Regions from separate parts of the Homo sapiens genome. Here all the other regions are linked to region 5. The links are contacts of gene promoters, found by promoter capture Hi-C in blood cells and fetal thymus (Javierre and others, 2016). All regions are on one chromosome and are shown on one strand. Each heading gives the region's core, a stretch centred on a gene start or on the middle of the fragment in contact. The rest is flanking DNA. Distances are from core to core; before and after follow the strand shown. Region 1 has its middle 220 kb from the start of CXCR4. Region 2 overlaps DARS1 (aspartyl-tRNA synthetase 1). Region 3 has its middle 240 kb from the start of CXCR4. Region 4 overlaps DARS1 (aspartyl-tRNA synthetase 1). Region 5 holds the start of CXCR4 (C-X-C motif chemokine receptor 4). Region 6 holds the start of MCM6 (minichromosome maintenance complex component 6). Region 7 has its middle 200 kb from the start of CXCR4.

Region 1 (2,700 bases), core at 159-2,658, 220 kb after region 5:
ATGTGGAAGGAGTTATGTTTTTAGAAGGTCCAGTTATTTTTCAACAAATACAATTATGGTCTGCTCATTATAGACATTTTGGAAAATGCAGAAAAGTAGAAAGAATAAAAATATGTCTATGAAGATAAATGTGGGAGGTTTCACTCTGGTGTCAGCAAAAGAAGTAGTTGTATTTTTCTTTAGCAACTGTTTGGTTTTTATCCACATTGTAGATCTTGTATCTCATCATGTCTTTAACTTTGCACAAGTTGCTAGAAAACTCTGGAATGTTCATTTGTGAAATAACTAATTATTTTTGAACAATGTTTATTAAGTGCCCACCATGTGCCAGGAACTCTGCTAGGCTCTGAGGATGTTTGACTGAGCCAAACAGATGTGTGGTTGCCCATGCATACACACCATTCATAGGCGGTGTGACCTGATGGATGTTGACAGGTGTTAATAGGACTCATGGAGTGTGTAGCTAGCACTGTGTGAGCACTTTGCATCTGTGTCAGGAAAATTTAATTTCTTCATTGTATAAATATTCTTCCAGAATTTTTCCCTTCTCCTCACTCCAAGGGGGCTAGCCCACACGATTGTGCTTTCTCCTATGGGTGAGGTTGACAGAGGACAGCTCTGCCCTCAGCTTTTGTGGAAGTCTCTTGGCATAATGTCTTGGGCAAGATTGTGGCTGGGGTCCAGGAGGAAGAGGGGAGAGAGGAGCGTAGGATGGGGGAGGAGGGTGGAATCTGAGAGACAACAGCTTCTAGAGACCTGAAAGGCAACAGAGGGGGCTGGCTGAAAGCAGTATGGACCTGTGAGTTTCTCCCTGGGGAGACTCAGAGGGGAAAGGCTGGTAGCAAACCAGGGAGGAAGACTCCAGGCACCTGTGTTCCCAGCAATAGCAAAGGCCATCAGACTCCCACTTGGGAAGAGAGTAACCCAGCCACCTGACTCAAGGGACCATGGAGACCTTGACAGTGGGCATCTGCTTGCTCACCAGGGTGAGTGATGACAGGGTGTCCCAGTGTTCCAGGATTCTTGAGACCCTTGGGCATTTGTAGAACTCATCTAAGCTGCTTGGGTCACACACTTAATCCATTTTGTGTTGCTATAACAGAATACCTGAGACTGGGTAATTTATAAAGAACAGAAATTTCTCGCAGTTCTGGAGGCTGGGAAGTCCAAGACCAAGGCACTGGCAGGTTCATTGTCTGATGAGGGTCTGGCCTCTGCTCCACACTGACACCTTGAATGCCGCATCCTCCAGAGGGGTGTGCTGTGTCTTCACCTGGCAGAGGAAGAAGGGCAAAGAGGAGCAAACTCTGTCAAGTCCTTTTATAAGGGCACCTAATTCCATTCACGAGGGAAGAGCTATAATTAGTTACTTTCCAAAGGCTTTTCCTCCCAATATTGTTGCCCTGGGGTCACCTGAATTTTGGAGGGGACACATTCAAACCATAGCACACACCAGTCTTAAGTTCTCTTTGCAAAGTAACAGTAGCCAACATTAGCTCACTCCCATCAAATGCTGTCCCACAGCACTGAACTAGCATGTTTTAGCAAGCAGAAAACACACTCTTCCTGCTACTGGCTCTTATATACTCAGAGTTCCAGCTCTCTGTCCTCCTAGGTGTTTGGAACACTACCTGCTATGCAAGATTCACTCAATACGGATTTAATATTATACCATAGGCAGGATTTTTGTCCATTTATAGGGACAAAAGCAACTGGATTTTTCCAGACCAATAGTTCAAGCAACTGGAATTTTCCAGACCAATAGCTCAGCAAGGGATTGTTGGTAGATTAAGTCTCTGTGCTGTACCTACATGTCCAAGCTGAAGGTCTTTGCTAGATTCTTATACTCAGTGTATGCAAAGATGATGAGTATCTCTCAATTATTTCAATTAGTCTTCATAGTTGACCAGTGAGGGCCTATTTCTAGCATCTTCAGGTGGACTAACATACCATTACTATTATCAATTATATTAGTTTCCTGTGACTGACATAAGAAATTTCTGTAAACTTGGTGGCTTAAAACAGCAGAAATGTATCCTCTTTCAGCTCTGGAGGCCACAAGTCCAAGATTAAAGTATCAGCAGAGATGTGTTCCCTCCAGAGGCTCTAGGGAAGAATTTGTTCCCTGACTCTTCTAGCTTCTGGTGGCTCCAGGCATTCCTTGGCTTGCAGTGGCATTGCTCTAACCTCTGCCTGTCTTGACATTACCTCTTCCTCTTCGGTAGGTGTAATCTGCCACTGCCTCTTTCTCATAAGGACATTTATCATTAGACTTAGGGTCTACCTGGCTAATCTAGGATAATCTCTTTATCTGAAGATCCTTCATTACATCTGCAAAGAGTCTTTTTCCAAATAAGGTAACACTCATATTCATATTGATGAATAAGGCCCCCTAAAATGATGTATCAACATCCTAATCCCTGGAATCTTATTTATCACTGTGAATACGAGTGTTGCCCATATCTGTTTACATAGCATCTGTGTGTGTATTAGTATGTCCTTGCACTGCTGTAAAGAAATACCTGAGACTGGGTAATTTATAACAAAAAGAGGTTTGATTGGCGCACAGTTCTGCGGGCTGTGCAGGAAACATGGTGGCATCTGCTTGGCTTTTGGGGAGGCCTCTGGAAACTTACAATCATGGCAAAGGCAAAGGGGGAGCAAGGCATCTCACATGGTGGGAGCAGGAGCAAGAGAGAG
Region 2 (2,700 bases), core at 44-2,543, 210 kb before region 5:
ATTTCTATATCTTGGCTATTGTAAATAATGCTGCATTGAACATCAGAGTGCACAAATCTCTTCAACATGCTGATTTCATTTCCCTTGGTATGTAAGACCAGAAATGGAATTTCTGAATCATATGGTAATTCTCTTTGTAATGTTTAGAAGAATCTCCATCCTGTTTTTCATAATGGCTGTACCAATTTTACATTCCCATCAACTATTTACAAACAAGGATTCCCTTTTCTCCACATCCTTACCAACAATTATCCATTACCTTTTTACTAACAGCCAGAGGTGTGAGATGGTTATCTCATTGAGGTTTTAATTTATATTTCCCTAATGTTTAGTGATGTTGAGCATTTTTTCATATACCTATTGGCCATTTATATGTAGGTTTTACATTTAGGCCTTTGATCCATTTTGAGTTAATTTTTGTATATGATGTTAGGTAAGGGTCTAATTTCAATCTTCTGCAAATGGACATTAGTTTTTTCTGTACCATCTGTTGAAAAAACTGTCTCTCGACCAATTTTAATTTGAAAATTTTGTAAGTACATTTTGTATTTTCCAAAAAACCCCAAAACAAACAACAAATAAAAACTTCAATGAAACTATACATTCAAAAAATTTTTTAAGAGTGTTTGATATGGACATCCAAAGATGAGTTAAATATTTGCTCATTTTAAATTGCAGAGCAGTCCCTTACATATACTGTAGAAGTGATCTTAAAGTGAATCAAGTGCTGCATCTCAATAAAAACACTTAGCAGCTCTTTGAGCTATTTTAAGGTAGAGCTTTAATTTGTGCTAATGCGAATGAACTCACAGCAGCAGAGAGAAAACAGGATACTCCACTTACAAGACATTTGGCTTCTAAATTCTTAAGAGAAAAAAAATGGCTAGAACTTTATGACAATAATATTTTATAACACACAAGTTAGCTGTTTATTTTGTTTCTTGGAAATCAAATTTTCACTTATGTCGTAATTCACTTTTAAAAATTCTTGTAATTCAAATTTGTATTATACTTAGAACTTATGAACTTATTTGTAAGCAATAACAGAATATTACCAATGCCTCCACCAGCATGAGGAGGGGCTCCAAAGCGGAAGGAATCAATGTAAGCCTTAATTTTCTCCAAATCTGCAAAAAGACACAAAACAAAATATAATTTATCATCTTATTTATCTTAAAAGGTCACAAAAGCAATTACTGTTCAATGGAGATTTTTAAAAAGACTGAGAAGTCTTTTAAATGTTTACAATGTATTATTTTCAGAATATACACTCCCCTAAATTATTTTAAGTTGTTTACCAATTCCATGATGTAAAGCTCTCTCTGTTAGCAGTTGAGGATCATGTATTCTTTGAGCTCCTGACAATATTTCTTCTCCTCTCATGAACATATCGTAAGAGTTGGACTGTTTCTGCAAGAGAAAAAACACCAGTCCTCAAGTGACTACCATCCTATTTCTATTACATATATACGGAAAAAAATCTCTGCTGCATGAAGAGCAAGTTCATTTTTTCCTACAATTAACAATGCAATCTTGTTCTCTAAAGTAGAATTAAACTACTGAGGGCTGAATAACTTTTTCTTTGTTTATATCAGATTCTGTGCTCTCCTCCCACACCCCCCAATAACAAATCAGAGCATCACATCTAATTTTTAAGAAGCAGTGCTGATCCTTATTTCACTTTATCATCTGAGATGTTTTTAAGAATGATATTATTTTGGGGTGACTTTTGGAACTCCAAGTTATTAACAGGTGTGAGTCTTTAAATTATTATTATTTTTACTTTAATCCCCTGTCTTTCAATAAACCAGTGGTTCCCAAAGTGTGATTCCTGGACCAGTAGCTTCAGTATTACCAGAAATTTTTTACTTGGTCTGGAGTGGGGCCTGCAAATTATCAGGCTCCCATTCCACAGCAACTAATGAGAAATTCTGCCTCAGCAACTGGTGTTTTAAAAAGCCCTCCAGGTGATTCTGATGCATGGTAAAGTTTAGAAACCACTGCAATGGAAAAACGGTAAAAGACCGTAAGACATTATTTAGATTATTAACTCCCAGGATACAATGTGAATTCCCAGTTTAAGGTCAATGACAGGATGATTTACTAAAGTATGCAAATCTAGTAGTACTATTTATAATTTACATAGTCTTTCTCTCTCATAAATCTTCAGAAAAATGACCAAGTAAAATGATTTTAACATAGGTTTTTAAAACTAATTTTCTAGAATATTCAAATTTTACAATATCATTTTGACCAGTGGTGACAGACATCAATGGTAATACGTATGTCTATCAAAACTGCAAATTATTAATGAAAACCATTATTCCTATTATACAATCTGACAGTGACAATAAAATTTCCCTTCTGCCTCAAAATGGGTTACTTAAAACCAAATTACTTACGGGATTTCTTGGGTCAGGCATGGTATAGAAAGGTCTTACAGCCAATGGATATTTATCAAGAATATAAAAATCTGTATCATACTATAAAAAGAATAAATGCAATTAAAATACATTTTTAAAAAGTAAAATGGCTAACATTTTGGTAATTAACTTTATACAAAAATTTTGGTTCTTCGTAATTACTCTAATTATATTGTATATACAATGAATATCTTGCTTTTTTCAGTAACATTTTTATCCTACAGCATTTTGCCATGGTGTCATAAATTCTTGCAATACCTAATTTTTAGGCATTACT
Region 3 (2,700 bases), core at 38-2,537, 240 kb after region 5:
AGGTTTAACTTTTTGAGAAACTGCCACTATTTTCCAAAGGGGCTGCACCATTTTCCATTCTCACCAGCAGTATATGGGGGTTCGTCGTCCACATCCTCTCAATGCTTATTATTGTCTGTCTTTTTATTGTAGCCATCTTAGTGGGTGTGAAGTGGCAGTCCTCTCATTTTGAGAATGAATAAGCTGAGGGCAGAGAGGAGCTGTGACCTGTTTAGCATCATTGTCTGTCAGTCTCTGGACAGCAAATCTCTGTAACTCCCAATCTGATGCATGTTCCCATCAGAACAGGCATCCTTTCTCAACATTGAGAAAGGAGCAAAGGCAGAGCAGGAAGTGAGGCTGCAATGAAGCCAGGCTTCCCCCACCAGCTATTATGATAGAACTCAATGGCTCACCATGAGTGGAGGATGGCAGCAGTGGGCCTCGGGGGAGGGGGTTCCCACCCAGTGGGCAGTCTGGCTGGGGTTTGCCCAGGCCCTTGCAGGCCTCACTTTACTTTCTAAACTTTTCTTTGATGGCAGAGAGCTTCAACAATGACATAAATTGGCTTCACCTACACATGATTGAGAACCTATTCAAAACTAGTCATAGTTTTACACGTTGGAGCCAAGATAGGAGGTAAATAAAATGGGGCTGAAATTCAACATACAAATGTATAGTCTCAATATGATTCTGTCAAGTGTTGACAACAGAAGGTAGAAGTAGGGCACAAAGGGAACACAGACAAGGGGCTCCAACCCATTCTGGAAAAGTGGAGCAGGAGCTGAAGGTTGAAGGCCTTAAAGTGATGGTGGGAAGCTTGCCAGGCTTGCTCTGCAGACAGAGGTGGGTGAAGTATACAAGCAACTTCCCTGGGAAGGGAGGGAATGGCTTTGAAAGTCAAGTAGCAAGTCCAACAGCCCAAGGCTGCAGTGCCTTGGTGGGTCTCAACAGAGCTTTGCACAGCTGAAAAAGCATTCCTAGCAATGGGCCTATCAGCTTTATATGTGCCGGACCTATAAGCAACCCAACACATAGAATGCAAGCTGAGGACTTTTGGACAAGTGCTAAGAGGTGGAGTGAGAAAGGCGAGCATGGACTAGCTGAGAAAATAACCCTCACAGCCACGAATCAAGCTCTGTGCTTGAATGTGTACCTTATGGAAAGTATGAGGTATCAGGCTGGCTTTGTTGGTAACTCCTCCCCGACATGCAGCATGACTATTTTTCAGTTATGAAGGAAATATTATATCCCAAACAGCCCTACAAATAAAGCCTACTTTGATTCATCTTTTCCATCTTGGTTTGCATAATGCACCATTTTTTTTTTTTAAACATCAGTGTGGTTTCTGCCCAGGTGGGCCTCAGCAAATTGTGAAATAGCTGAGGTTTCTTCCTCAGACCATGTAAGGCTATTATAACTCCACCTCCTCCTGATATACTGTGGAGAGTGATGTATACAGGTGTAATGTGCCCTAGGTGCTGTTACTGTAAAGTTGAATACATTTTTTATTTTAAACCTTGGTTTTAAACTCTTTACTCTTGCAAGTTGTGTTTCCAGTGCTTTGTGCTGGTAGAGATATCTGCTGAGTTCGCTTTGAGGGTCTTTTATATGAAAATCTAAGATCGGTTGACTAGTGACCTTGGCATGCAAACATGAATGTTTGCAGCAAATTTCAGCTGATATTCAAAGTTATTTCTAGTGTAAGAATTCTGGCAGGCTCTAGAATTTATACCTAGGAACATGTAGGAATGGTAATTTTTGAGTTATAAGAGGGTGAGAGAGTAGGAACCTGTCTAAAGCTTTTAAAATAAATTGGTTAGATTATATATTACCAATTGATAAAGAAATATTTCTTAAGACATTTAGTCACATTTTAAGTAGGTGAGGAGATGGTAATTGTTCATATCACAGAATGTTATTTTTAAAAATTGGGATTGCTAGGTGGGTGCCCCAGGTCTCTAAACTAGTGGTCCCTAACCTTTTTGGCACCAGGGACCAGTTTCATGGAAGAAAATTTTTCCATGGACCCAGGGAGGGGGGATGGTTTCAGGATGATTCAAGGGCATTACATTTATTGTGCTTTCTTTTCTTTTCTTTTTTTTTTTCTTTTCTTTCTTTTTTTTTGAGACAGGGTCTCTCTCTGTCACCCAGGCTGGAGTGCAGCCAATCTCGAGATTGCACCAACCTCCACTCACTGCAACCTCTGCTTCCCAGGTTCAAGCAATTCTTCCACTTCAGACTCCCACATAGCTGGGACCACAGGCATGCACCACTATGCCCAGTGAATTTTTGTATTTTTAGTAGAGACGGGGTTTCACCCCATTGGCCAGGCTGGTCTCAAACTCCTGACCTCAAGTGATCTGCCTGCCGTGGCCTCCCAAAGTGCTGGGATTGCAGGCGTGAGCCACTGCGCCTGGCCTGTGTAAATGAAATAATTATACAACTCACCATCAGGTAGAATCAGTGGGAGCCCTAAGCTTGTTTTCCTGCAACTAGATGGTCCTGTCTAGGGGTAATGGGAGACAATGACAGATCAGCAGGCCTTAGATTCTCATGAGGAAAGCACAACCTAGATCCCTCGCATGTGCAGCTTTGCGCTCTATGAGAATCTAATGCCACCTGTGATCTGACAGGAGGCAGGGCTCAGGCAGTAGTGCTTGCTCACTGGCCACTCACCTCTTCCTGTGTGGCCCGGTTCCTAACAGGTCACGAACCGGT
Region 4 (2,700 bases), core at 47-2,546, 190 kb before region 5:
CTCTAAGCAATAATATCCATGAAAACATGGATTTTATTTGCTGGTTATATTGTATAGCTATTAAAATAAAAAATGTTCATCTGTTTAACACCCAGAAATCACTGTGTACCTTCAGTGGTAAAGGTACCATACTTGGGAAAACACTGCAAAACCACTGAAATGTCATGTAAGTTTCAATATATTGGCATTAAAACTATATTGCCAGGATAATCTCTTATACTACAAAATTACGAAACTTCTCTTAAAGAGTTGAGATTTTAATTTTTAGTTTGGAAAATATGTATTGAAAGTAATGAGCTAGGCAATGTGTTAGAAGATGGGCTATTGATATTATCTAATTTTTCTTTGTTTAAGCGTTTTGTGGCTTTGTTAATAGAAAGTTTCAGGGAGATATGGCAAATAGGCTTATTTCCAATCAGTTAGTGGAGGCTGCCCTGAGTGCTGTGTGGCTACTTTAAGCTCATCAAGAATATTATGTATATGGTATGTTGTGCCTGACTGGGGGCATTTGCCATGAATGTAATTCTTTTCTCTTGGACAGACTGGTAACTTAAGTCAAGGCAAGTACATGAGTTAAGGGGCTAACAGTCTGTCCAAGAGAAAAGAATGGTGAAGACAAAGGTGACAAATTTCAAAACAAAAATATGTAATTGATAAGATGAAACCACACCATAATAGCAGATACTTTTCATTCATTAACCCACAGGGTCAAAGTAGGGTTCATTAGTGAACTATAAAATATATGCTCAGATAGCTATTTTCTTAATCCCTGCATGCCAAAATAGACCTAAACATTCAGGAAAAAAAGTTACAGAATTACATAGTAGGGGCTATTTGATAGTGTGATTTCAGAGGTAGCATTGAGGATAATGTGGTGTATTAGCAAACAAAGAGAACTTTAGGAATGCCATGGGGTCTCAAGGGTTAGGATGCCCATGAGTCCTGAATTGTCTATCCCCTTGGCATGTGAAACCAAGTGGCAAAAAAGAGCTGATGATTCACCTTTAAAGATGGCTCAGTTTCTATGCTTACCTGGCAACCCAAGGGAGGGCATCCCTATTAAGGAGACCTCACACTACTAGTCTTATCTCCCCAACAAAATGATGTGTTCTTTGAAGATGACCAATACATATTCCACAGTATAAGAAACCTGTAATACGAACATAATAAATATTTTGTAGACTAGCTATAGTACAGGGGGTCTAGATAAAGAAATAAAAGAAATAGACTAATTTTGAACCAACGAATCCATTTGTATTTGGGAAAAGTACTTAAACAATGATTCTCAAGAGGGAAGACTAACATTTACTCCTAGGACAACCTTCACCTGTACCTAAGAGTGAGGTGAAATAAAGGGGACAATTCTGATCTAAAGGGAACTCTCCTGAATAGATTCTGAGAAAACCCTCCTAACAACCTGCTAACCTATGAGGATGAAGCTAATTTGCCGTGCCAATCTGGAATATGAGTTATGTGAGTGCTATGTATGAAAAGGGTGCCAAAGACATTTTAATTCACTTTTCTAGGAATGAAAATTGCTTTAACCTTCTTGGGGGCTGGAAGGTGAAGTATTTTTAATCAGGGCACCTGCCTGTAAAGTTCAGAGAGAAAACCATTCATATACGAGAAAAAAGTCAGGCTACACTAGAACCTGACGGAGGATATATCTTAGAACGTTTGTATTATAGAAGAAGAATGGCAATTTTGCCTTTTATTTCCAAATTCTTTAGCCCTTGACTTTGCTGAGAGTCTATGAAAGAGCTAGTTGGGGACTAAATTAGATAGTAGTTTATTTTTTATTTGTTGAGACAGGATCTTGCTCTGTTGCCCAGACTGGAGTGCAGTGGTACAAACATAGCTCACTGCAGACTCAACCTCCTGGGCTCAAGCAATCCTCCTGCTTCAGCCTCCTGAGTAGCTGGGACCACAGATGCATGCCATCATACTTGGCTAATTTTTAAATTTTTTAAGGAGACAGGGGTCTTGCCATGTTGCCCAGGCTGGTTTTAAACTCGTGTGCTCAAGCATTCTTCCCACCTCAGGCTCCCAAAGTGTTGGGATTACAGGTGTGAGACACTGCACCAAACCAAGACAGTAGTTTAGAAGGAAACGAAGGTGCTTAAAAACTTAAAGTTACTAATGTACACAACATCTCCCAAAATGTAAAGTCAAAGTAAGAGTTAAGCATGTGAACGCTTGCAAGGGCCAAATAACATGAATGAATGAAATGAATGATATTTGCTGGGTGGTGCAGGGCAAAGCAAAAGACAGTGTAAGAATCCTGTATATGTCCTATCTAGCATGCTAGCTCATGTTCCAGATTCTCCTCTTTTTAAGAAGTGCCATCCAGATTTTAATGTGAAAACCCATTTTTCAATGGTGGCAATGAATTTAAACAAAACAATACAACCCAAAACCCAAAAACTCCTCAGGTCAAATTCTAGAGGCACAAACCAATAATAACTTGTGTGAACAACTAGCAAGGGCAAATAAATAAAGAATGATGTCTCACTCCTGTGGCCAACATACATGAAAAACCTGAGGTTTCTAGGTAGTATCAAGAGGACTTTGGATTACTGCTTGCTTTTCATATACAAATTAAAATGGAAAAGGTAGAAGACAAAAAGCAAATAATTAGGAATAACATGAGTATATAATAAGGGTAGACTCACATGATGGTAGAATAGCCAAGAAGAACTC
Region 5 (2,700 bases), core at 52-2,551:
GGGTCGTCCAGCCCCGGGCCGCCGCGGCTGCCCACTACACCCACGCCAACCGCCCGCAAGCAGCGCTGCAGGGGCTCCGCTGGGCGACACGCCAGGCTCTGTCCCACAGGGTGCTGGGGAGCGACTGGGCGGCTCCGCCGCGAGCGTCTTTGAATTGCGCGCCGCTGCAGGAAACCAAAAACTCCCTAGCAAGAGGGTTTCAAAAGGTTTCTGGAAACCACCGACGGTTAAACATCACAACTGGACTCGGAGAGAGCCAAACGGTTTCCCCACTTGCACCTGCCAGTCTTCGCGGCGGCGACCTGGCAGCCCAGGTGCGGTCTTAACCGCCCCCGCCCCTCACCCCGTACCCGCTCCTATCCCCGGAGCGCAAATCTCAGGGCTGGCAGCTGCGCGGTGTCAAAGGGGAGGTCAAACCACTCCGCTGACCTCTGCACGACCCCAAACTCTCGAACTGCAGGACCCACTCGCGGCCGTGGGGAAGAGGCGCGCTTCGGACGGCGGGAAGGTTTTCCCCCTCAAACCCAAAGCGCGCGGGCGGATCAACTCCTAGCTGCTGCCACCACTCGATCCCCTCAGAGGATCGGCGCGGTGGGTCCACCCGCCTCTCCCGCCCTCTGCCTACTGTGCTGGGAGACTGGCACAGCTCCGTCGGCCGCACAGAGTTTAACAAACACGCACCCAGTGTCAAGAACAGTCACCAGGCGCTTAACCCCGAAGTTAAAGCGGGCGCAATCTCCTCCTGGGAACTCAGCCCAGGCACGCCGCCCTCCGCCTCTAAATTCAGACAATGTAACTCGCTCCAAGACATCCCCGCTTCCCCAAGGAAGAGACCGGTGGTCTGAGTCCCGAGGCAGCGCGCACGCCTTCTCTGCACTTGTGCACAGAATGTTCTTACGTTTGCAAACAGCGTGCAAGCCGCCGCGCGCGGCGGGACTCAAGGGGGAGACACATGCAGCCACTGGAACGCTCTTTCCAGTCGTTTCTCCTCGACTCACAGAGAAAAAGATTCCAATCCTGCTCCCCCCCCACCCACCCGCACTATATAGGCATGGTCAAGAAAACTCCTTTCGGTGACCCTTTTTTGGAGTACGGGTACCTCCAATGTCCTGGCCGCTTCTGCCCGCTCGGAGAGGGGCTGCGCTCTAAGTTCAAACGTTTGTACATTTATGACAAAGCAGGTTGAAACTGGACTTACACTGATCCCCTCCATGGTAACCGCTGGTTCTCCAGATGCGGTGGCTACTGGAGCACTCAGGCCCTCGGCGTCACTTTGCTACCTGCTGCCGCAGCCAACAAACTGAAGTTTCTGGCCGCGGCCGGACTTTTATAAAAACACGCTCCGAGCGCGGCGCATGCGCCGCTGGGGCGGGGAGGGAGAAGGCGGGGTGGGGGAGAGGGGCAGACGCGAGGAAGGAGGGCGCAGGGGCGGGGCGGAGAGGTGCGCGGCTTGGGAAGCCCAGGGGACCCTGCTGTTTGCGGGTGGTCGGTAGTGAGTCCGGAGCCGGACAGGACCTCCCAGAGGCATTTCCTAAGTTTGAGGGAAGCGGGATGCGCCTGAAGACAGGTGGGAAGCGCGGGCTAGGAACGCGTCTCTCTGTGGCGCGTCCATCCTTGCTAAAGTGGATGGAATTCCAGACCTGGGAATGCTACAGTAGAGACACTGAGGCCCAGGGAAGGGGAGTGACTTGCTGGAGTAACCCAACCAGTAGGCGGCAATGCTGGAAGTAGGGCCAAGCTTCCAACGCCATTCCCCGCGCTTTCAGCAGACGCAGCCCATTCAGGAGGTAAAAGGAGTAAAGATCCTTCCTTCGGAGGATGTAGCTATACTTGCACATTCACAGCATCACTAGGGTCAGGTGCAGATAATTAGGAGATACTTTCAGAAGAAGGTAGGATTTGGCATAATTCTGGAGACTGATCAGATGTAGATATGTATTGCTCAGTAATTTCATAATAGCGGTAACCAATTCGCGAATAGTGCTTTATTATCCTAAAAGTATGCTTTATTATAAGAGTAATTTAGCGACCAGTACTTTTTGTAACAGATCACTAGGAACTTGCACAGAATCACTCATTCATTCTCACAACACCGTGTGGGTATTACCATCACAGAGATGCATTTAGTCCGATATTTATAGAAGGACGAACTGCGTGCCACGCACTGTTCTAGGCGTTGGGGATCCAGCGTGAACCAGACAAGGCCCGCATTCGGAGAAACCAGCAAATAAGCCCGGAGAGATGAAATGCCAGGGATGGGCAGGGATTCCAAGCCGGGCTTGAACCCAGGTCTTCGGTCCCCATACTCGGCGTCTTCCACGATTTTGAGCAGAGGACAAGCTTTGGCACGAATCAGAAATTAGGTTGAAGAACTGGGCGGGGCGGAGTGGGGGTGGGGGTCAGACGTTTAAAGCGATCTCAGACTGGCTGAGGTTTGCAGTGGGCGCGCAGACAGTGCTTTCCCCCTCGCGCCACTTCCCTCCGGCGCGGAGACTGGGTGGGGCGGGGGAGCGAGTGTGGGGCGGGGCCGAGAAACTGCGTCCGCAGGCGGGGTGGCCGCTGCGGAGATAGCTGGGACCGAGGCGCGTGCGTCGCGACACGGACCCCAGAGGCCCCCACCCCGAAATGGTCCCGAGGAGAGGGATTGCCCAGACTGCACTCTACACACGATCCCTCTTTTCTATATCAAAAGAGGAAACA
Region 6 (2,700 bases), core at 54-2,553, 240 kb before region 5:
GGGATCACCTGAGGTCGGGAGTTCAAGACCAGCCTGACCAACATGGAGAAACCCCATCTCTACTAAAATACCAAATTAGCCGGGCGTGGTGGCGCATGCCTGTAATTCCAGCTAGTAGGGAGGCTGAGGCAGGAGAATAGCTTGAACCCGGGAGACGGAGGTTGCGGTGAGCTGAGATGGTGACACTGCACTCCGGCCTGGGCAACAAGGGCTAAATTACGCCTCAAAAAAAAAAAAGTTTGGAGATGGGAGAGTGGTGACGGCTGCACAACGAGGTGAATGCACTTAGTGCCACTGGACTCTACACTTAAAAATGGCTAAAATGGTCAACTTTGTTATGTATATTTTACTAAAAAAGAACTTCAAAAGCCATTCCAAACTGCTGACCCTTCATCCTGGAGGCCGTGGTGTATCTGCTCCAGGAAAAATAACCGGTGGGTGAGGCAAGCCAGGGAGGAGGTTGGGGTTATGAAGCTAGGAGCCCAGAGGCACAGAAAAAAAGAAGAGTAGAGAAAGGAAAGGAAGGCCAGAGGGAAAGGGGAGCAAGGGACCCAGAAGAAGGGATATGGTGAGCTACTCTCTGCAGGGCAGGGCTCCGCCCCCCAGCAGCTTTCAAACCACAGTTGACGCAGAAACTTTCATCAGCACAAGAGGCGAGGGTGGCCCGTGCCCTGCGAACCCCCAGCACCATGCTCCCGGCTGCGTGGCCCAGCAGGGCACCGACGAGATTCAATGGCACTTCGGCCTCCCACTCGACCTGGCCGCACCCAGCGGCCCAGTTACTATACTCAGCGAGCCCAGGTTTCCGCGCCGGTCACCGAGGGCTGTGCAAATACCAGGCTCGCGGGGTGGTGAGCATCAAGTGACAGAAGCAAAGCGCTGAGCACTGGGCACGAGCGTCTTAGGGCTCGAGATGGGTTTTACTCCAGAAAAACCCAGCCTGTCCCAGGCTCCTCGCGGCCGCCGGGCTCGGAGCCTAAAGTTGGGGGGCGGGCGGGGAGGCGCTTCCCGGACGCGCGACCCCCAGGTTCCGGAACACCCGCCGCCCACACGGCACCGCCTGGCCCAGACGCCGCAGGCTCCGGAGGCGGGCGAGGCCCGGGGCGCTCGCCGACTTACTCCTCCAAGAAGTCCAGGAACAGTTTCTGGCACTTCTCGGCCACCTCGTCGCGGACCTCCAGGTGCTGGCTGCCGGCGCCCGGCTCCGCTGCCGCCGCGAGGTCCATATTTGCTTAGTGCCGAGGATTCGCCTGCGCCACGCTCGACCGCCACAAGTCGCTTTTTTCCAGACGCTGCAGCTTTGCGCGCGCCGCCGCCGCTTCCGCCCCGCCCCCTCTTCCGACCTGCACGGCCGGAACCAATCGTGACACAGGAGCTGGAGATTTCGCGCCAAACCTGACCAATGAACGGCGCCTCTCCAAGAGCCCCAGCCCACGGAAAGGGATTTCGCGCCAAATGCAAAGCCCTTCTGGAGAAAGCCCATCTGCCTTTGCGCCTGCGCAGTGTAGCCGTGGCCCGCGGGTATTTTTGGCTGCTGGAACAAGTTCGAATCTGAGGGTTTTGTCCGAGTGGTTTTTCAAATGTTCTTTAAATCATTCCACTGATATTAATTGAACGATCGGAGTAAGACTCTATGGAAGAGAAAAATGAGTAAGCCGCTTCTGCTGTCTAGTTAGAGGAAATAATGGAAACCACAGTATAAAACCCTGTAAAAGAGTCAAAGAGATGTCTAAACCTTGCATGGGTAAGGTGGCACAATTATTGTGGTGGTGCTGACCGAGGAAAATCAGCGAAATATTTGACATTGGCCGGGCGCGGTGGCTCACAACCTGTAATCCTAGCACTTTGGGAGGCCGAGGCGTGTGGATCACCTGAGGTCAGGAGTTCGAGACCACCCTGGCCAACATGCAGAAACCCCATCTCCCCTAAAAATACAAAAATTAGTCGGGCGTGGTGGTGCACGCCTGTAATCCCAGCTACTCGGGTGGCCGAGGCAGGAGAATCGCTTGAACCTGGGAGGAGGAGGTTGCAGTGGGCCGAGATCGTGTCACTGCACTCCAGCCTGGGCAACACAGTGTGACTCCGTCTCAAAAAAAAAAAAAAAAAAAAGAAAGAAAAAGAAAAAGAAAGAAATATTTGACACTTTGATTAATCTTTTTTTCTTTTTCTTTTCTTTTTTTTTTCAGATGAAGTCTCACCCAGTCGCTCAGGCTCGAGAGCAGTGGCGCGATCTCGGGTCACTGCAACCTCCAGCTCCCGGGTCCAGGGGATTCTCCTGCCTCAGCCTCCTGAATAGCTGGGATTGTAGGCGCCCGCTACCATGCCCAGCCAATTTTTGTATTTTTAGTAGAGACAGGGTTTTCGCCATGTTGGCCAGGCTGCTCTCAAACTCCTGACCTCAGGTGATCCGTCTGCCTCGACCTCCCAAAGCGCTGGGATTACGGCCGTGAGCCACAGCGCCCGGCCTTAATACCCTTCTTAAAATGCACTATTGGCTTGAGTTATCCTTATGTTTTTTTCCCCCATCTTTCCCTAACCATTTCACTTGGTTTTTCTGCCATCTCTTTGGCCATTCCTGATTAGCATCCTTTGTAGGCGCCTCTCCTTCAGTGAGTCTTTTAAATGTTCTGGTTCCAGAGCCTTCTTTTCCCGTAAAGTCGCTCTCTTGGGCGACCCTTTACACTCCCTTGGCGTTAATTA
Region 7 (2,700 bases), core at 180-2,679, 200 kb after region 5:
CCATATTGGCAAGGGTGATGATCATGAAGAACTAGAATTGCTGCCACATAGCAAGGATAGGAAGGAATATATCTTGAACTAAAGGAATTCCTTGGGTGTCTCTAGGAGCTTCCAAAGCCTGGTATTAACTGTTAATGGACAAGGTCAAGAAGCACAGCCCCAAATCAGTAAAGAAACTGAAGGTTCAGATTCTTTGAGCATGATGGCCTGGGTTCACTATAGTGTTAGCTGAGGGGGAGGGAAAGCTAAAACATGTGATTCAGAAAGAAGATGAAAAATATCAGATATGGCTTTAGGATCAGCTGCATCAGCAGGAACTAGGATCTCTACCACAGAAGCTTGGGTTTGAAGGTTTTGATAGAGGTTTCAGCTGGCCACCACCTTGAAGATTCTGTGATAGTTTGGACTTAACATAGGGTTGAGCAAAGCTGGGCAGTGTGAGGGGTGGACTGCACTGGGCAGCTTATGTGCCCTGCTTCATATCATGTTGGACCACCTTTTCTCTCCTTTCCCTTCCCCTTCCTTCCCTTTCCCTTTCCCTTCCCCTTCCCCTTCCTTCCCTTTCCCTTCTCTTCTTTCTCTTTTCTTTTCTTTTGTTTTTTTTCTTCCCCCTCCCCTCCCCTCCTCTCCCCTTCCCTTCCCTCCCCTCCTCTCCCCTTCCCTCCCCTCCTCTCCCCTTCCCTCCCCTCCTCTCCCCTTCCCTCCCCTCCTCTCCCCTTCCCTCCCCTCCTCTCCCCTTCCCTCCCCTCCCCTCCTCTCCCCTTCCCTCCCCTCCTCTCCCCTTCCCTCCCCTCCCCTCCGGTCCCCTCCCCTCCTCTCCTCTCCTCTCTCCTCTTTCCTCTCCTTTCCTTTCCAGAAGGCGTCTCACTCTGTTGCCCAGGCTGGAGTGCAGTGGCACAATAATGGTTCACTGCAACCTCCACCTCCCAGACTCAAGCAATCCTCCCACCTCAGCCTCTGGAGTAGCTGGAACCACAGGTGTGTACCACAATGCCCGGCTAAATTTTGTATTTTTTTTTTTTCATAGAGACGGGATTGTGCCATGTTGTCCAGGCTGTTCTCAAACTCCTGGGCTCAAGCGACACACCTGCCTCGGCCTCCCAAAGTGCCAGGACTATAGGTGTGAGCTACCGCACCCAGTCTTGGCCCACCTTTTTAATTTCAACATTGCTATAGCAACCAGCTCATGCAGGTATATTCTGAGAACACCTTTCTTCAAACATTCCTCACTTCTCTTGCTTTCTGCCATGGGACTTCTCGGCTACTGTGATGGGAGATGTCCAGCCATTCTGATACATTAAAAAACCTGGACAGCAGTGGCTCACGCCTATAATCCCAGCACTTTGGGAGGCCGAGGTGGGTGGATGACCTGAGGTCAGGAGTTGAAGACCAGCCTGACCAACATGGAGAAACCCTGTCTCTACTAAAAATACAAAATTAGCCGGGTGTGGTGGCACATGCCTGTAATCCCAGCTACTCAGGAGGCCGAGGCAGGAGAATCGCTTGAACCCAGGAGGCGGAGGTTGCGGTGAGCCAAGATCATGCCATTGCACTCCAGCCTGGGCAACAAGAGCAAAACTTCATCTCAAAACAAAAACAAAAACACCTGGACATTTGAAGGTATTACTACCCTTCGGGGCAACCCTAGACCAGGGATGACAGAACCCTGTGGATAAATGCCCCTATATTCTTTTCTTCAGATGGACATATCCAAGGTAGATTTTATACAGATCCTCAGAGAATCCCCAGTGGGACTGGTCCTCAGGAATTCATAGAGATGATCAGCTTGAAAATGAATGCCAGTATAGGCTTTCCCTTTCCCTCTGCTCTGTTCTTCCTAGTCAATCATGCCTGTTTCCTGGGATCACTTCCTAACATAAACTACCTGTGTGCAAGTCCCTGTCTCAGGCTCTGAATTTGGTGAAACTCAGACAGAGAGAGATAAAAACTGTTCTAATTCCCTATCCTGAATATATTGGCTTTTCCCTCCTGCAAATTGTGTGTGCGTGTAACATAAATTTATAACAATAATTAATAGATTTATAAAATTAATCAGCTTTACAGTCAAGGATTGAGAGGCTTGGTTCTGAAATCTGTGTGATCATTGAAATTGCTTGGAGACGCCCTCAAACCTACCATGGCAGAATCTCCGGGGTTTTGGTCCAGAACCTTACATTTTCTTAAAATTCTATGATTCATTCTATACCAGCTGTATTCCAGAACTACTGATTGGGATGCTCTAAGTCTGTTCCAGTGACAGAGGATTAAGAACTCATGAACTCCCAGACATTGTCAAGCAAGAGGATGATGTATAGGACCCTAAACTTTCTTTAGGCAGAGAGAGTCAGAGGAAAGGCAGGTGCACATGAGATTTTCAAAAGGCTGTGTGCTCTGTCAGATGCCTCACAACATTTCCTGGTGTTACATGGGGTGGCTGATATTTTGGTTTGGCTTGATAAAATACTTTGTGAAGTTGCTGGCTTGTTCCAGTTTTGAAATTGTCATGGCATTCATTGCTTCAAAAGCTTCTTCTCTTTTCTCTGTAGATGACTATGCTCTCTTCTGCATCTGAGAGCCCTCTATTTAGTTCTAAAGGCATTCAAGTTTACAACACACGGAGAAAACAACAATCATGCTACATTTTCACTTGTTGAAAGTTCTGAGAATATAAGTTTTTAATGTGTAAATTCTATGACATTT

Evidence for each region. The method cuts DNA at HindIII sites, captures the fragments that hold promoters and counts their contacts. A CHiCAGO score of 5 or more calls a contact.
Region 1: a contact is called between a fragment that was not itself captured here and the fragment with the promoter of CXCR4 in region 5, in 11 of 17 cell types (total CD8 T cells, non-activated CD4 T cells, monocytes and 8 more). The highest score is 15.3, in total CD8 T cells.
Region 2: a contact is called between a fragment that was not itself captured here and the fragment with the promoter of CXCR4 in region 5, in 16 of 17 cell types (naive CD4 T cells, total CD4 T cells, naive CD8 T cells and 13 more). The highest score is 20.6, in naive CD4 T cells.
Region 3: a fragment that was not itself captured here is called in contact with the fragment with the promoter of CXCR4 in region 5 in 11 of 17 cell types (activated CD4 T cells, monocytes, total CD4 T cells and 8 more); the score reaches 16.7 in activated CD4 T cells.
Region 4: a fragment that was not itself captured here is called in contact with the fragment with the promoter of CXCR4 in region 5 in 14 of 17 cell types (neutrophils, activated CD4 T cells, monocytes and 11 more); the score reaches 20.3 in neutrophils.
Region 6: a contact is called between the fragment with the promoter of MCM6 here and the fragment with the promoter of CXCR4 in region 5, in 1 of 17 cell types (fetal thymus). The highest score is 5.5, in fetal thymus.
Region 7: a contact is called between a fragment that was not itself captured here and the fragment with the promoter of CXCR4 in region 5, in 10 of 17 cell types (activated CD4 T cells, total CD4 T cells, fetal thymus and 7 more). The highest score is 12.3, in activated CD4 T cells.

Annotation. Positions count from the first base shown.
Region 1 is chr2:136,332,224-136,334,923 of GRCh38, forward strand. No RefSeq gene overlaps it. Among named protein-coding and RNA genes, the nearest start is that of CXCR4, 220 kb to the left of the region's middle. The HindIII fragment of the contact is 3,277 bases long and covers 1-2,700 here.
Region 2 is chr2:135,910,084-135,912,783 of GRCh38, forward strand. DARS1 (aspartyl-tRNA synthetase 1) reads right to left here. Exons shown (of 16, transcript NM_001349.4): 13 at 2,403-2,483; 14 at 1,299-1,410; 15 at 1,056-1,127. Among named protein-coding and RNA genes, the nearest start is that of MCM6, 35 kb to the left of the region's middle. The HindIII fragment of the contact is 7,312 bases long and covers 1-2,700 here.
Region 3 is chr2:136,358,375-136,361,074 of GRCh38, forward strand. No RefSeq gene overlaps it. Among named protein-coding and RNA genes, the nearest start is that of CXCR4, 240 kb to the left of the region's middle. The HindIII fragment of the contact is 983 bases long and covers 797-1,779 here.
Region 4 is chr2:135,929,450-135,932,149 of GRCh38, forward strand. The region is part of intron 7 of DARS1 (aspartyl-tRNA synthetase 1); the gene reads right to left. LOC124906078 (a long non-coding RNA gene) reads right to left here. Exons shown (of 2, transcript XR_007087246.1): 1 at 1,033-2,700. Among named protein-coding and RNA genes, the nearest start is that of MCM6, 54 kb to the left of the region's middle. The HindIII fragment of the contact is 5,919 bases long and covers 1-2,700 here.
Region 5 is chr2:136,116,848-136,119,547 of GRCh38, forward strand. CXCR4 (C-X-C motif chemokine receptor 4) reads right to left here and starts at 1,302. Exons shown (of 2, transcript NM_003467.3): 1 at 1,199-1,302. The coding sequence starts at 1,213. RefSeq lists a silencer at 1-93 and an enhancer at 224-293. The HindIII fragment of the contact is 7,141 bases long and covers 1-1,736 here.
Region 6 is chr2:135,875,140-135,877,839 of GRCh38, forward strand. MCM6 (minichromosome maintenance complex component 6) reads right to left here and starts at 1,304. Exons shown (of 17, transcript NM_005915.6): 1 at 1,120-1,304. The coding sequence starts at 1,226. RefSeq lists enhancers at 394-929, 699-828, 1,519-1,578 and a silencer at 899-1,058. The HindIII fragment of the contact is 12,304 bases long and covers 1-2,700 here.
Region 7 is chr2:136,313,967-136,316,666 of GRCh38, forward strand. No RefSeq gene overlaps it. Among named protein-coding and RNA genes, the nearest start is that of CXCR4, 200 kb to the left of the region's middle. The HindIII fragment of the contact is 2,187 bases long and covers 337-2,523 here.